3 separate regions of the Homo sapiens genome follow, and regions 1 and 3 are each linked to region 2. The links are contacts of gene promoters, found by promoter capture Hi-C in human tissues and cell types (Jung and others, 2019). All regions are on one chromosome and are shown on one strand. Each heading gives the region's core, a stretch centred on a gene start or on the middle of the fragment in contact. The rest is flanking DNA. Distances are from core to core; before and after follow the strand shown.

What was found. The method cuts DNA at HindIII sites, captures the fragments that hold promoters and counts their contacts. A contact is called where the count stands out against the background at its distance.
Region 1: a contact is called between a fragment that was not itself captured here and the fragment with the promoter of MED25 in region 2, in 1 of the 25 tissues and cell types used here (adrenal gland).
Region 3: a contact is called between a fragment that was not itself captured here and the fragment with the promoter of MED25 in region 2, in 1 of the 25 tissues and cell types used here (pancreas).

Annotation. Positions count from the first base shown.
Region 1 is chr19:49,642,712-49,647,788 of GRCh38, forward strand. SCAF1 (SR-related CTD associated factor 1) reads left to right here. Exons shown (of 11, transcript NM_021228.3): 2 at 2,310-2,423; 3 at 2,643-2,700; 4 at 3,397-3,491; 5 at 3,815-3,915; 6 at 4,004-4,119. The coding sequence starts at 2,316. Among named protein-coding and RNA genes, the nearest start is that of SCAF1, 3.0 kb to the left of the region's middle. The HindIII fragment of the contact is 935 bases long and covers 1,205-2,139 here.
Region 2 is chr19:49,815,222-49,819,782 of GRCh38, forward strand. MED25 (mediator complex subunit 25) reads left to right here and starts at 3,068. Exons shown (of 18, transcript NM_030973.4): 1 at 3,068-3,254; 2 at 3,350-3,395; 3 at 3,951-4,075. The coding sequence starts at 3,121. RefSeq lists an enhancer at 2,627-2,986 and silencers at 3,024-3,190, 3,117-3,276. The HindIII fragment of the contact is 7,641 bases long and covers 1-4,561 here.
Region 3 is chr19:49,624,316-49,629,334 of GRCh38, forward strand. It overlaps PRR12 (proline rich 12), which reads left to right. Exons shown (of 14, transcript NM_020719.3): 12 at 529-675; 13 at 790-885; 14 at 1,146-2,124. The coding sequence ends at 1,292. Among named protein-coding and RNA genes, the nearest start is that of RRAS, 13 kb to the right of the region's middle. The HindIII fragment of the contact is 9,568 bases long and covers 1-5,019 here.

The DNA.
Region 1 (5,077 bases), core at 422-2,921, 170 kb before region 2:
TCTTTTAGGGCTGGAAAGTGTCTGCATGGGCTGGCCTGAGGATGCAACTGGTCTGCATAAGTCTGGGGCCATTTATCAGGCCTAGAAGGAGTGTTCAAGGGCTAAGAAGTCATTTAGGGCCCCCTAGGGGGTTGGGTTATGCCCACCAGGGAAGGGCGCCAAATATTGAGATGTACTGAGGGTCTGGGGTCTCCAAGGTATGGGTAGTGTCTAATAATGGGTGACAGGAGGCTGGGGGCAGTTAGAAGGACCTGGAACCATCTAGATGGCTTTAATGTGACTGCAGGAATGCAGTTTTGATGCCTGGAGCAAATTCGAATGCCTTTGGGGTCAGAGCAGCTTGTGGCGAATAATAATACGGAAAGAGAATGAGGAAATTTTGCCCAGCTTAGATATACTTGCCCTTCAGACAGTAATTCAAATGAAAAATGTTTTAAGATTCTGCATTACCCTGGGGGTTATTGAGAGAGTTAGAATTAATCTACATTAGTCTGGAAGAGTCTGGAGGGTCATCTAGACCCACTATTACAGTGCTTTTCAAGGGGAAACCTGGGCCATGTTGACCGTGATCTGCATTAAGATACATTTTTTCATTGAGACCTGGTACAGACAGTCATAATGTATTTAACATTATATAACATAATGTATTAACATTAACTCACCTTCCACGAATTGACATTTCCACTTACTACTTGTGCTGTGCTGTGAAGAACTATTTTGTTCTATTTACTTTTTAAAACAAGCTATTTGTGAAGCACTAAACTGGTATATGACCCTGTTGTTGGGGAAACCACTGATCCAGATAGGACCTAGCAGTATCTGCAGAGCATTCTTCTGTTCAGAAGATCTCAGTAGCTGAGGGTGTGTCTGCGAAGCCTGGTGCTTTCTAAATGAGCAAGCAAGCATCTTTGTATACTGCAGAGGGTTTGGGGATCCCTCAGCCTGTAGTCAGCAGATGTTGATTAAGCTTCTGATATGTGACAGTCACTGTTGTAGGTAGCATGTGCTTCCCCGGGAGGTGCTGGAGAGCAGTTCCAGGGCCAGGAACTGGGGCTGAGCTTATTGAGTATTGGTGAAAGAGGCTGGGATGTAATAGACTATCAGGGTTGGGTGTGTCTTAGGAAGTTAGGAATTAGGTGGAGCTGGGAGGCTGAATATGGAGGCTTGGCATGGTTTGAAAATCTATATGGGATCTAGAACAGGACCAGGGCCTTGTCTTTGCAGGCATGCTGTGGGGGAAGCGAGGAGACAGATGTAGGGGAAACCTGGGCGTTAAGGGCTAATAGTGTCATTCCTCTTCATCCGTATTGAGCACTTGAGGTGCTCTAAATGTGTGGCAGAAGTCAGGCTTTGAGTATTCACAGCCATTCTCTGAGATAGATGCTCCTATTTCGTGCATTTACAATTAAGCATACTGAGTTGTGGGTTAGGGATTTTGAAGCTTTCTAGGAATTTTGAGATTGGATATTGTCTTATGAGTAGCAGATTTGACAGTCATGGGGAAGCTTACAGCTGAAATATTCATATTTTTCTGAAGCCCTAATCAAGACATCCACCTGTTTGATGGATGATCTTTCAACTGCCTGACTGGGGAATCATATCAAAGAATTTCCATGACATTGCAAAGGCTTTGTGCAGATGGCGATAGGTAAATGCCTCCTGTGAAGTTTTCCTTCGGCATGTCTTTCTGAAGTTTAGCGTTTTCATTTTAAAAATGGCATACTGGTTTTGCAGATCACTCAATGAAGTTTCCAACTTAGGTGTATAAATACAATTTGGGGGTGGTCCTCACCATCGAGGACAGTTGATGCTCTAGGAAGCCGTGTGGTGTTTAAGGCATGGTGTTGAATATTGCCCAGCACATTGGCCTTGGGAAAGGTGGGTTTATAGGACTGTGGAACACACCCTTTGAAATCACAGTGCAGCACACACAAAAAACCTTGGTGTTGGCTTTGCCTCTTAGGAGGCCAGGGAATGAGGTCTTGAAGTTTGGATAGGTTGTTGGGGAAGCTGCGGGAATTGAGGAGTGAGATGTTAAAAGCGGAGGCCAGGGAGGCCTCCCTTTGACATAAGAGGCACCTGAGACCCAGAAAAAAGGAAGAGAATTGCTCCTAGTCCCTGGGGTGTCTGTGCTGGGTCCAGCGCCCACCCAAGCACAGGGTGGAGTGGGAGGAGGTGGAGGAGAGGAGGGGTGCCAGAGGGGATGCTGAGGGAGATAGTGTGGGGCCCTTGAGGTCTTCATGTCTATCCTCTACTTCCATCCTTTCTCCCGGGACCTCCACTCCAAACTCTCCCCCCTGGACCCCCAGGTGACCATGGAGGAAGAAGATGAGTCTCGAGGGAAGACAGAGGAGTCGGGGGAGGATCGGGGCGATGGTCCGCCAGACAGAGACCCCACGCTTTCTCCTTCTGCCTTTATCCTGGTGAGGCTGCTGGGCTCCTGGCACTGAGGGATGGAGGAGCTGGGCATCCACACTCCAGGGGCCTGACTCCAGGGCCTGAGGCAGGGGCGCTGGACTCTTGGCTCCCTTGAAGCACTTGAGTCTAGCTGTCAGTGTCTGGGATGTCTGTCTCCCAAGGGGCAGAGGTTGCAAAGCATCTGCCTGGGTCCTCTGACGCTTGGTTCTTCCCCCCTTCCCCAGCGAGCCATCCAGCAGGCTGTGGGAAGCTCCCTGCAGGGGGACCTGCCCAATGATAAAGGTATGGCGGCTTCCGGTTCCTTTTAGCCCCTGCCCCCTCTCTGCATTCTTTATCCTAATGTCATTCATACAAGCTTTTCTGAAGCCTCCTGGGTGCCACCCTTGTGCTGGCATGGGGAGCCAAAAATGGGCAGACACCCTGTAGCTGCCTTGGAAGGGCCTAGTGTGCAGTGGAAGGGAGACAGGCACAGTGCTGGGAGAGGGCAGGAGGCCCACTTGAGCTAGCATGGTGGGAGACGGGTCAGGGCACCTTCCCCGAGCAGGGACAGTGAACGGCTCTCTAAGGACCTAGAAGAGTCTAAGGACCTAGGATTAGAGGGAAGCCTGATCAGCTGCAGCAGGCCTACAGCACGGGTGCAGCGGCGAGGGGCTGCGCTGGGCTTCCTTGGGGCTGGCATGCAGGAGGGTGTGAGTGGGGTTGGGGGAGGCAGGAGAGGTCTGTGGGGACTGGATCCCAGCAAGGCCTGAATGCCAGGTTGAGGTGTCTGAGGGCAGACAGGAGGACGAATGGCTGAGCGTCGCAGCCTCTGAAGTGGGTGCTGGGAAGTCCTCCTGGGAGGTGGCGCATGGAGGCCTGGAGAGCATGCGGGAGGCTGGTTCCGCTGTCAGGAACTAGATCAAGCTCCTCTTTCCTCTACCCCGCAAGTCTCTGCAGCAAGTCCCCTGTGTCCAATCCCCCATGCAAATCTCTCACCAGATGGCTCTCGGTGTCATGGCCTTCGATGGCGGCGCTGCCGGAGTCCACGGTCAGAGCCCCGTTCCCAGGAATCAGGGGGCACTGACACGGCTACTGTGAGTAAGAAGAGGGGGCTGGGGGCCTGGCTCACGGGTATCAGGGAGGAAGGGATGGGGGCCTGAGTCTGGGGGAATGGGGTTTGGGGACCTGGACTCCTGGCTCTGCGATGCTGACCAGGGGCAATGTTGGAGAGTCTGGGGGCCTGATCTGTGGGCCTGAGCTTTGAGTGTTGATGGCAGTCAGGCTATAGGAATTAGATCCTCAGTTTTCTTGGGGATCTTAGATGTCTGGGTTCCTGAGAGGTTAGGGAGTGGGGAAGCAGGATTTGCCAGTCTTCATGTGACCAGGGACGGCGTAGAGCCTCTCTGGCCTCTTCCAGGTGTTGGACATGGCCACGGACAGCTTCCTCGCAGGGCTGGTGAGTGTCCTGGATCCCCCGGATACCTGGGTTCCCAGCCGCCTGGACCTGCGGCCTGGCGAGTGAGTAGCTGGGCAGCTGGAGTGGGAGAGGCCTCAGCGTGAGAGCCAGAAGCACCCCTGAGGCTCACCCACCCCTTCCGCCTTGCAGAAGTGAGGACATGCTGGAGCTGGTGGCTGAGGTCCGAATCGGGGACAGAGATCCCATCCCTCTGCCTGTGCCCAGCCTGCTGCCCCGTCTCAGGGCCTGGAGGACGGGCAAAACGGGTATGTGGGGCCAGGGCGGAGCTGGGCAGGTGGTCGTGGAGTTGTGTGGGGATCGGCTGTTTTTGGTAGTGATGGTAGCGGTGATCATGTTATTTAGACAAAACCTTTCCCTTCTCTTCGTATTAGACGTGATTAAGGCTGTAGGCGCATACAGATGTACATAAAGTAAAAACTGATGTGCTGGGGCTATGTGGGAGTGGTCAGCGTGTGTGACAACTGGTTTCGGCACGCTAAGTATTAGTGTCACTGCACTGGGCGTTCATCTCCCCAGGAGGGGGACTCTTCGAATCTCTATCTTCAGAGAAGCAGACAGCCTGAAAAAGGGCAGGCACTTGCCCAAGGGCGCACAGCCAGATGCTCCGTGGGGTGCCTGGGCCTTGAGCCCTGGTGTGTCTGAGTCTGAAGCCCAAGTTTTTGATGTCTGAGATGTGCGCTGCCCAAGGAGGAATCTCTTCCTCCAACCCCACACACAACGGTAACCCTGTGAGCCCTTTAGACCAAACGCGAACGCACATCTCAGTTGCAAGGAGGACTTGTTACTATGCACATCACTGGGCCCACTCCCAAGAGTTCTGATTCTGCAGGTCTGGGGTGGGACCTGGGAATTTTCATTTTAAACAATACATGCTGCTGAGCCCTGGACTCTGTTGAGAACCCTGGGTTTAGGCCTTCCTTCTACGTGAACATCTGTATTTGGAGGAGGGGTTGGAGGGAGAGGAGAAGAAGGTGCAGTCAGCTATGGGCACCAGCTGTGAGCCGTGAGCACCAGTTCTGTGGTAGAGCAGGCACACCACTCTGTGCCAGGTCATGTTTACCTTGTTTACCTTGTTTCGCTGTGTCGCCCAGGCTGGAGTGCAGTGGCATAATCTCAGCTCACTGCAACCTCCACTTCCCGAGTACAAGCGATTCTCCTGCCTCAGCCTCCTGAGTAGCTGGGACTACAAGGTGCATGCCACCA
Region 2 (4,561 bases), core at 1,818-4,317:
CATGCCTGTAAACTCAGCTACTCGGGAGGCTGAGGCAGGATAATCGCTTGAACCCAGGAGGTGGAGGCTGCCGTGAGCCGAGACTGTGCCATTGCACTGCAGCCTGGGCAACAAGAACAAAACTCCATCTCAAAAAAAAAAAAAAAAAAAAAGCTTCAGCAAATGAGACTGTCTCAAAAAAAAAAGGGCTTCCGCAGGCTCACTGCCTATAATCCGGGCACTCTAGGAGGCCAAAACGGGTGGATCACCTGAGGTCAGGAGTTTGAGACCAGCCTGGCCAACATGGTAAAACCCTGTCTCTAACAAAAATACAAAAATTTGCCTGCGAGGTGGCACACACCTGTAGTCCCAGCTACTGGGGAGGCAGAGGCAGGAGAATCGGTGGAACCAGGGAGGCAGAGGCTGCAGCGAGCCGACACTGCGCCACTGCACTCCAGTCTGGGCGACAGAGCGAGATTTTGTCAAAAAAAAAATAATAAAATAAAAAAAAATAAAAATAAAAATAAAAGATAAAAGAAAAATAGAAACCCAATAAAAAATAATTTTAAATGATAAAGGTAAAAACCTTTATCATTAGGCTTTCTGTAAGTACTTTTCAATTGGTGATTATTATTATTATTATTACTTTTTTTTTTTTGAGACAGCGCCTCGCTCCGTCCCCCAGGCTGGAGTGCAGTGGCGCGATCTCTGTTCACTGCAAGCTCCGCCTTCCGGGTTCACGCCATTCTCCTGCCTCAGCCTCCGGAGTAGCTGGGACTACAGGCGCCCGCCACCACGCCCCGCTAATTTTTTTTTTTTTTTTTTTGGATTTTCAGTAGAGACGGGGTTTCACCGTGTTAGCAAGGATGGTCTCGATCTCCTGACCTCGTGATCTGCCCGCCTTGGCCTCCCAAAGTGCTGGGATTGCAAGCATGAGCCACTGCGCCCGGCCTGTTTTTTTTGTTTTTTTTGTTTTTTTTTTGAGACAGTCTCGCTCTGTCGCCCAGGCTGGAGTGCAGTGGCGTGATCTCGGCTCACTGCAACCTCTGCCTCCCGGGTTCAAGCGATTCTCCTTGCCTCAGCCTCTCGAGTTGCTGGGATTACAGGTGGGCACCACGACGCCCAGTGATACTGACCTCGTGATGCGCCCGCCTCTACCTCCCAAAGTGCTGGAATTACAGGCATGAGCCATCTCGCCCGGCCGAAGATTATGTTTTAAAATATTTACTGGCCATTCAAAATTTTGTGTGTGTGTTTGTGTGAAACTAGTCAGGTTTCTTTTTATTTATTTATTTTTATTTTTTTTGAGACGGAGTCTAACTCTGCCGCCCAGGCTGGAATGCAGTGGCACAATCTCAGTTGACTGCAACCTCCGCCTCCCGGGTTCAGGAGAATCTCCTGACTCAGCCTCCCAAGTAGCTGGGATTACAGACGCCCACCAGGACGGCTAATTTTTTTATTTTTAGTAGTTAGAAGGAGTTTCACCATGTTGGCCAGGCTGGTCTTGAACCCCTTACCTCGGGTGATCTGCCCGCCTTGGCCTCCCAAAGTGCTGGGATTACAAGCGTGAGCCACGGCGTCCGGCCCTGGTCAGGTTTCTTTCTATTAAAACAAATATAAAGTGGCAGGGCACGATGGCTAACACCTGGGATCGCTTTAGCCGAGGAGTTTGAGACACGCCAGAGCAACACAGTGAGACCCCATCTCTACAAAAAATTTAAAAATTAGCTGGAAGTGGTAGTGCGCGGCTGTGGTCCCAGCTGCTCCACAGGCTGAAGAGTGGCTCCAGTGCGAGTAGAGGCTGCCGTGAGCCAAGATTGGGCCACTGCACTTCAACCTGCACAACAGAAAGAGACCCTGCCTCAAAAAATAAAAATTAAAATTAAAAGATAATAGTAATGAAGTGTTTCTATTTTTCTATATTGTTATTCATCAGTAAGATTTATTTGCGTAGTACATTTCTGTCAACAAACACGCTAGAAAGATTTTCCCAGTTGGCCGTATATTTTTCAACTTGGTTTATACAGTCTTTTGGGAAAAATTAATGAAGACTACGTTTTCTAACTTTGCTGTAGTGCTAAGAAACTCCATGGCAGTCATTAAGATTTTTTCCCTTCAGATAGTTTTCGGGTTTCATTTGTTGCACTTACATTTTTAATCCACCTGGAATGTATTTACGTTCTAAGCCAGTTTCTGGCTCCTCTCCCAGAAAACAACGCTCAGGTGTTGCTTAGCAACCCGCACTTGGTTTGGTGTTCGGCTTCTTTTCGGGGGGGAAAACAACTGCCCTCCCTTCCAAGTTGAGGACGACCTTAAAGCGTCGCCTAGTAACCTCGTTTCCGCCGATGTGATTGGATCCTTCTCGCGTCCCTCCCCTAGTCCCCACGCCCGAAAGAACAGAACCAGAAACTTAATCTAACGGTTACAAAACAAGGGCAGCGGGCCCGGCGCGGTGGCTCACGCCTGTAATCTCAGCACTTTGGGAAGCCAAGGCGGGCGAATCACTTGAGGTCAGGAGTTCGAGAACAGCCTGGCCCACAGGGTGAAACTCTTTCTCTACTAAAAATACAAAAATTAGCGGGGCGTGGTTGCGGGCACCTGTAATCCCAGCTACTCGGGAGGCTGAGGCAGGAGAATCGCTTGAACCCGGGAAGCGGAGGTTGTAGTGAGCCGAGATCGCGCCACTGCACTCCAGCCTGGGCGACAGGGCGAGACTCCCGTTTCGAAAAAACAAACAAACAAAAAACAAAACACAAAAACGAAAACAAGGGCAGCGTACGCGTTGCATAGCAACCAGGTCTCCTGCCCCTCCCTTTGAGACAAGAGGCGGACCTGGACGCCCCGCTCAAAGATGGCGGCTGACTGAGCCGCTTTCAATTTATTTAGCTTTTGACAATAATTCCGTCTAACCCATCAGGCCCCTAGAAGGGCTAACTATGCCCTTTCTGAGTCTTCCACGCGGTGGGGGCGAAGGAGGATGGAGCTAGAACGAAGCCTCAGCGCGTGCCCCGCACAAACATGGCAGCATTCCCAGCAGCCCTAAACCGCCCGACGCGAGCGCGCGCGCGGCGCAGGCGCATTTCTGCTCATTCCGCGGCGTCGGCTGCGGCTGCAGTGGTGGTGGCGGGTACCGCACGGGGTATGGTCCCCGGGTCCGAGGGCCCGGCCCGCGCCGGGAGCGTGGTGGCCGACGTGGTGTTTGTGATTGAGGGTACGGCCAACCTGGGACCCTACTTCGAGGGGCTCCGCAAGCACTACCTGCTCCCGGCCATCGAGTGAGTGCTGTTTCCGCGACTCTAACCCCGCCCTCCCACTTCAGTTTCGCACAGTTTCTTGCCTGACTCCGACCTTTCACTTCCTACCCTCACAGGTATTTTAATGGTGGTCCTCCTGCTGAGACGGACTTCGGGGGAGACGTGAGTCTAGGGACTCCTGGGCCTGAGGGAGGAGGGGCCGGGGGCCTGGACTCCTGGGTCTGAGGGAGGGAGAAAGGGCTGGGCCTGGACTCCTGAGTTTGAGGGAGGAGGGGCTGGGGGTCTGGACTCCTTGTTCTGAGGGAGGAGGGCCTGGGGGCCTGGACTCCTGGGTCTGAGGGTGGAGGCGCTGGGGCCCGGATTCCTGGGTCCGAGGGAGGAGGGAGCTAGGGGCCCAGATCCCTGGGTCTGAGGGAGGAAGGGCTGGGCGTCTGGACTGCTGGGTCTGAGAAAGGAGGAGCTGAGGCCTGGATTCCTGGGTCTGAGGGAGGAGGTGCTGGGGCCTGGGCTCCTGGGTCTGAGGGAGGAGGGGCCGGGGGCCTGGATTCCTGGGTCTGAGGGAGAAGGGGCTGGGGCCGAGATTGCTGGGTCTGAGGAAGGAGGAAGCTGAGGAGTTCCTGGTTCTGGAGGAACGGGAAGCTGGGAGCCCTGATTCCTTCTCTAAGGGAAAAGGGAATTGAGGTCCCAGATTAAAAGTTTTCTGTCCTCCCCTCCCAGTATGGGGGGACCCAGTACAGCCTCGTGGTGTTCAACACAGTGGACTGCGCTCCCGAGTCCTACGTACAATGTCACGCTCCCACCAGCAGCGCCTATGAGTTTGTCACCTGGCTCGATGGCATTAAGTGAGCTTTCCCCCACTTGGGGTGGGTTGCTGGTCCCTGTGAGGGGCCGTGAATGAGTGATGGCTTGGGGTGGTTGGTGTCCCCGTGAGAGGCTGTGAATAAGTGATGGCTTGGGGTGGTTGGTGTCCCCGTGAGGGGCTGTGAATAAGTAATGGCTTGGGGTGGTTGGGGTCCCTGCGAGGGGCCGTGAATGAGCGATGGCTTGGGTTTGAGCTGCAGGAAACATCTCATACATTAAGGGATTGAAAGGACTTTGAGGGTGATTGTGTTTTTGTCAGAAGTCACTTTTGTGGTGGCTTCTGTGTGCTCAGCAATGTTGCCATCAGTTTAGAAGTAGGAAAAACCTTCCCATTCAGGGAGGCCTGGCTGAGCTCCAGCAGCCACCTTGTACTCCCTGTGTGATTGTCCCCTTTCTGTCCTCTCTTTTTCCGTCTACCCCTGTCCTCCTTTTCCAGATGGGTACATTGTAGCCTCAGTGCAGGGGGA
Region 3 (5,019 bases), core at 167-2,666, 190 kb before region 2:
GAGAATTCTGGGGTAGGTGGTTAGGATGGTGCTGAGAATTCTGGGATAGGTGGTTAGGATGGGGCTGAGAATTCTGGGATAGATAGTTAGGATGGGGCTGAGAATTCTGGGGTAGGTGGTTAGGATGGTGCTGAAAATTTTGGGGTAGGTGGTTAGGATGGGGCTGGGAATTCTGGGGTAGGTGGTTAGGATGGGGCTGAGAATTCTGGGATAGATGGTTAGGATGGGGCTGGGAATTCTGGGATAGATGGTTAGGATGGGGCTGGGAATTCTGGGGTAGATGGTTAGGATGGGGCTGGGAATTCTGGGGTAGAATTTTGGGTGACATTGAGAATCTGAGCCAGGCCAGAAGGCACAGTGGAAGCATCACTGGTCAGGCCCAGCCTCCTCTGTCCTTTGAGGAGACTCTAGTTGTCTCTCCTGATCTGCAGCCTGGGGGAAACTGAGGCACAGATCTGAGACCTGGCTGTTGGGTTTGGGGTTTATGGATCCAGGGCAGCATCCAGCTGACCCATTGGCTTCCCGCAGGATGCTCTGCACACGTTCCCACAGCTGCAAGTGGAGCAGAGTGGGGAGGGCTCTCCGGAAGAGGGGGCTGTGCGGCTGCGGCCTGCTGGGGAACCCTACAACCGCAAGACGCTCAGCAAGCTCAAGAGGAGCGTGGTCAGAGCCCAGGTGGGCACTGGGGCTGGGGCTGGGAGTGGGGAGTGCTGGCGGTATGTGGGAAGGGAGGAGAGGGGCTGCCAAGTGCCGGGCTGGAGGGGCTGAGGCATCTCCACTCCTACCCAGGAGTTCAAGGTTGAGCTGGAAAAGTCGGGATACTATACACTCTACCATTCGCTCCACCACTATAAATACCACACCTTCCTGCGCTGCCGGGACCAGGTGAGCCCCACCCACAGCACCCATCGCCCTGGGATTCCAACCTTTCTGACTTCCTCTTGGGATCTGAGGGTCCAAGCCCAGCCCCATCCTGCCTCAGACCCAAGAGTTCAGGTCCTTCTGTCTTGGACTTAAGAATGCAGCCCCCAGCCCTGGTCTCCCTGGGACACTGACATCTGACACCCCAGGCCCCATGCCCCAGCCCCTTCCCTCCCCAGAGGCCGGTGTGCCACCCTCCCCAGTGCCATGTTTGACCCCTGCAGACCCTGGCCATCGAGGGCGGCGCCGAGGACCTGGGCCAGGAGGAGGTGGTCCAGCAGTGCATGCGGAACCAGCCGTGGCTGGAACAGCTCTTTGACTCCTTCAGTGACCTGCTGGCCCAAGCACAGGCCCACAGCCGCTGCGGGTGACCCCGCCCCAGCTTGTGAGGGGGGCGCCTCCTCCATGAACCGAGAATTGGGACAGAACCGTGTCCTCAGGAGCTAACACCTGGGCTCCATCGCCGGGGAAAGGGGGTCATGGGTCAGGGTGTGTCTGTGCTGCCCCCTCCAGGGCAGGGTTCAAAGTCCGACTCCCCCCCTCTCCCAAGCCCCCTCCACTCCCTCCCCATTCCTCCCACTGTTCGGTGTACAGAGAAATTATTTATATATATGTATAAATGTCTATTTAGTAACGGTTTCCCTCTCCCCTTGCCCCGACCCCCCCTCCACAGCCACAGCCCCCGCCCCCTCCACCTTGTACATAATGTATAGGAAAAGTCTATGTATGGCTGGGGGGGGTGGGGTGGCTTCAGAGAGCTGGGGGACCCCTTCCCCCCAAGTCCCCCCTGCAGGCCAAGATCTTTGCTAAAGGCCATTCCCTCCGCAGGGCATTTGGCGTCGGGTGGGAGGGGAAAACGCATCTTGTTAATTATTTTTAATCTTATTTATTGTACATACCTGGGGCAGGGGCTTGGGGAGGTGGAGGGGGGAGAAGGGTCCCCTCTCTCTGCCCCTCCCACTCCTTTTCTACGGCGATTTGTCTGTGTCTGGCCCCCACCCACTGCCCATCCCCCATTGTTGTCTGGATGTGGTTCTATTTTTTATCGGTCTCCTTTCCCCTCCTCCCCGTTCTCGCCCCCGCCCCACCCCCTGCTCCCACTACCCTTTGTCTCTTGCTCTTTCTTGGGCTTCTGTACAACTCAACTTGTATACACTGTGTACACACAACCAGCCAAACGAAAACCCAACGGCAAACACTTTACCGGCAGGCTGGAGTGCCTCTGTCCTGCGGCGCTGGAGTGGGTGGCAGTGGTAGCAGGGGCAGAGGTTCTGGAACGGGACTTTCCCAGAGCCCTGGGCAGTGGGGGGCCTGAGGCTGGCATATGTTCTGTGTCCCCGCACAGCAGAGTATCCCACCCTGAAATTTAATGACTTCAGACAACAAATATTTATCACTGGGGGGTTTCTTTTGTTTTTTAGCTAAAGACAGGGTCTCGCTCTGTCACCTAGGCTGGAGTGCAGTGGCATGATCATAGCTCACTGCAGCCTCCAACTCCCTGGCTCAAGCGATCCTCCTGCCTCAGCCTCCCAAAGTGACGGGATTACAGGCAAGTGCCACTGTGCCTGGCCCTGTGTTCTTTATGTTACCCAGGCTGGCCTTGAACTTCTGGGCTTAAAAGATCCTCCTGCCCCAGTCTCAAGTAGTTGGCATTACGGGTGCATGCCACTACACCCAGTTCAAATCCTGTAGTGTTTTGTTTTGGTTTTTTTTTTTGAGACAGAGTCTCGCTCTGTCACCCAGCCTGGAGTGCAGTGGTTCGATCTTGGCTCATGCAACCTCAGCCTCCCCGGTTCAAGCGATTCTCCTGCCTCAGCCTCCCAAGTAGCTGGGATTACAGGGGCCTACCACTACATCCAGCAAATTTTTGTATTTTTAGTAGAAACCAGGTTTCACCATGTCGGCCAGGCTGGTCTCGAACTCCTGACCTCAAGTGATCCGCCAGCCTCAGCCTTCCAAAGAGATTACAGGTGTGAGCCACTGCGCCCGGCCTCAAGTCCTGTATTCTTGAATCCAAGTGAGTGGTCCATGGTACAGCACTCTTGGAGTTCCCCAAGCACTTGTATAAATGTAGAATCGGCACAGGCAGCAGACGAGGAGAGGGCAGGTTGAATAGGGCTGTTTCTCCTCCTCCCACCCTTAAAGGAAAAGATGTAGAATCTCAGGCTGTTGCTCTGGTCTACTTGATCAGAACCCACTTTTTAGTAAAATGCCGAGAGGATTCTCAAGCACATTCAAGTTTGAAGAACCGTGTTCTAGAACAAGAATGTTAAAAATGTGCAGGTTGGCTGGGCACGGTGGCTCACGGCTATAATCCCAGCACTGTGGGAGGCCGGGGCGGGGGGATCACTTGAGGTCAGGAGTTCGAGACCGGCCTGACCAACATGGTGAAACCCCGTCTCTACTAAAAATACAAAAATCAGCCAGGCGTGGTGGCGTGCGTCTATAATCCCAGCTACATGGGAGGCTGAGGCTGAGGCAGGAGAATCGCTTGAATCCAGGGGGCGGAGGTTGCAGTGAGTTGAGATCGTGCCATTGCACCACTCCAGCCTGGCTGACAGAGCGAGACTCCATCTCAAAAAATAAAAAATGTGGAGGTCAACTGGCAATATTTTAGAACCCAGTCTATGAAGCAGTGAACAGGCTGTTGTCATTCTAGAGCCTGGATGGATGGACCACTGGTGTTCCAGAACCCTGGCTTAGTCCGTGGGTAGGGACCCAGTGTGAGATTTGAGGGTGGAACATCAGCATTCCAGATGCCCTTTTAGGTGAGATTCAGGGAGAACCCTCATCGTTCTAGAACCTTGAGTATTGTTCCAGGGGTGTCCAAGGAGAGAATACAGTCATGGGTTCTTAGTTTCTGTTGTACCAGTAAAGCCCCTTCCTCATCCCTCTTTTTTGTTTATTACTAGAGACAGAAACTAAAAACCATGGCTTCAGGCTGCTAAAAGCCTAAAACAAAACAGAACAACAACAAAATAAGGTGGGTTGGACAAATCTGGACTCTAGACCATCACATGTTACAGATTTTTTTTTTTTTTTTTTTTTTTTTGACGGAATCTCGATCTGTTGCCCAGGCTGGAGTGCAGTGGCGCAATCTCGGCTCACTGCAAGCTCCGCGTCCAGGGTTCCTGCCATTCTCCTGCCTCAGCCTCCCAAGTAGCTGGGACTACAGGCGCCCACCACCATGCCCGACTAATTTTTTTTTTTTTGTATTTTTAGTAGAGATGGGGTTTCACTGTGTTAGCCAGGATGGTCTCAATCTCCTGACCTCGTGATCCGCCTGCCTCGGCCTCCCAAAGTGCTGGGATTACAGGCAAGAGCCATCGTGCCTGGCCACATGTTACAGATTTTAGATCCTGGTTTCAGACTAGAGGATGGATAGTAGCATTTGAGAACCATAATGGGTGAGTCAACAATAGACCATGAAGCCAGGCGTGGTGGCTCACGGTTGTAATCCCAGCACTTTGGGAGGTGGAGATGAGCGGATCACCTGAGGTCAGGAGTTTGAGACCGGCCTGGCCAGCATGGTAAAAACCTTCTTTTTTTTTTTTTTGAGACGGAGTCTCCCTCTGTTTCCCAGGCTGGAGTGCAGTGGCACTATCTTGACTCACTGCAACCTCCGCCTCCCAAGTTCAAGCGATTGTCCTGCCTCTGCCTTGTGAGTAGCTGGGATAACAGGTGCATGCCACCACTCCCGGCTAATTTTTGTATTTTTAGTAGAGACAGGGTTTCACCATGTTGATCAGGCTGGTCTCGAACTCCTGACCTCATGATCTGCCCTTCTTGGCCTCCCAAAGTGCTGGGATTACAGGCATGAGCCACTGTGCCCAGCCAACCCTATCTCTCTTAAAATTACAGAAATTAGCCAGGCATAGTGGCTTGTGCCTGCTACTCAGGAGGCTGAGGCAGGAGACTCGCTTGAACCCGGGAGGCTGAGGTTGCAGTGAGCCCAGATCGCGCCACTGCACTCCAGCCTGGGCAACAGAGTGAGACTCCATCTCAAAAAATTTTAAAAAGGATCATGAACTTTCTAGAATCATTGAGTTAAGAGGGCTGAGTACAAACCATTATTGTGCTTGAACTGTGGCCTATAGC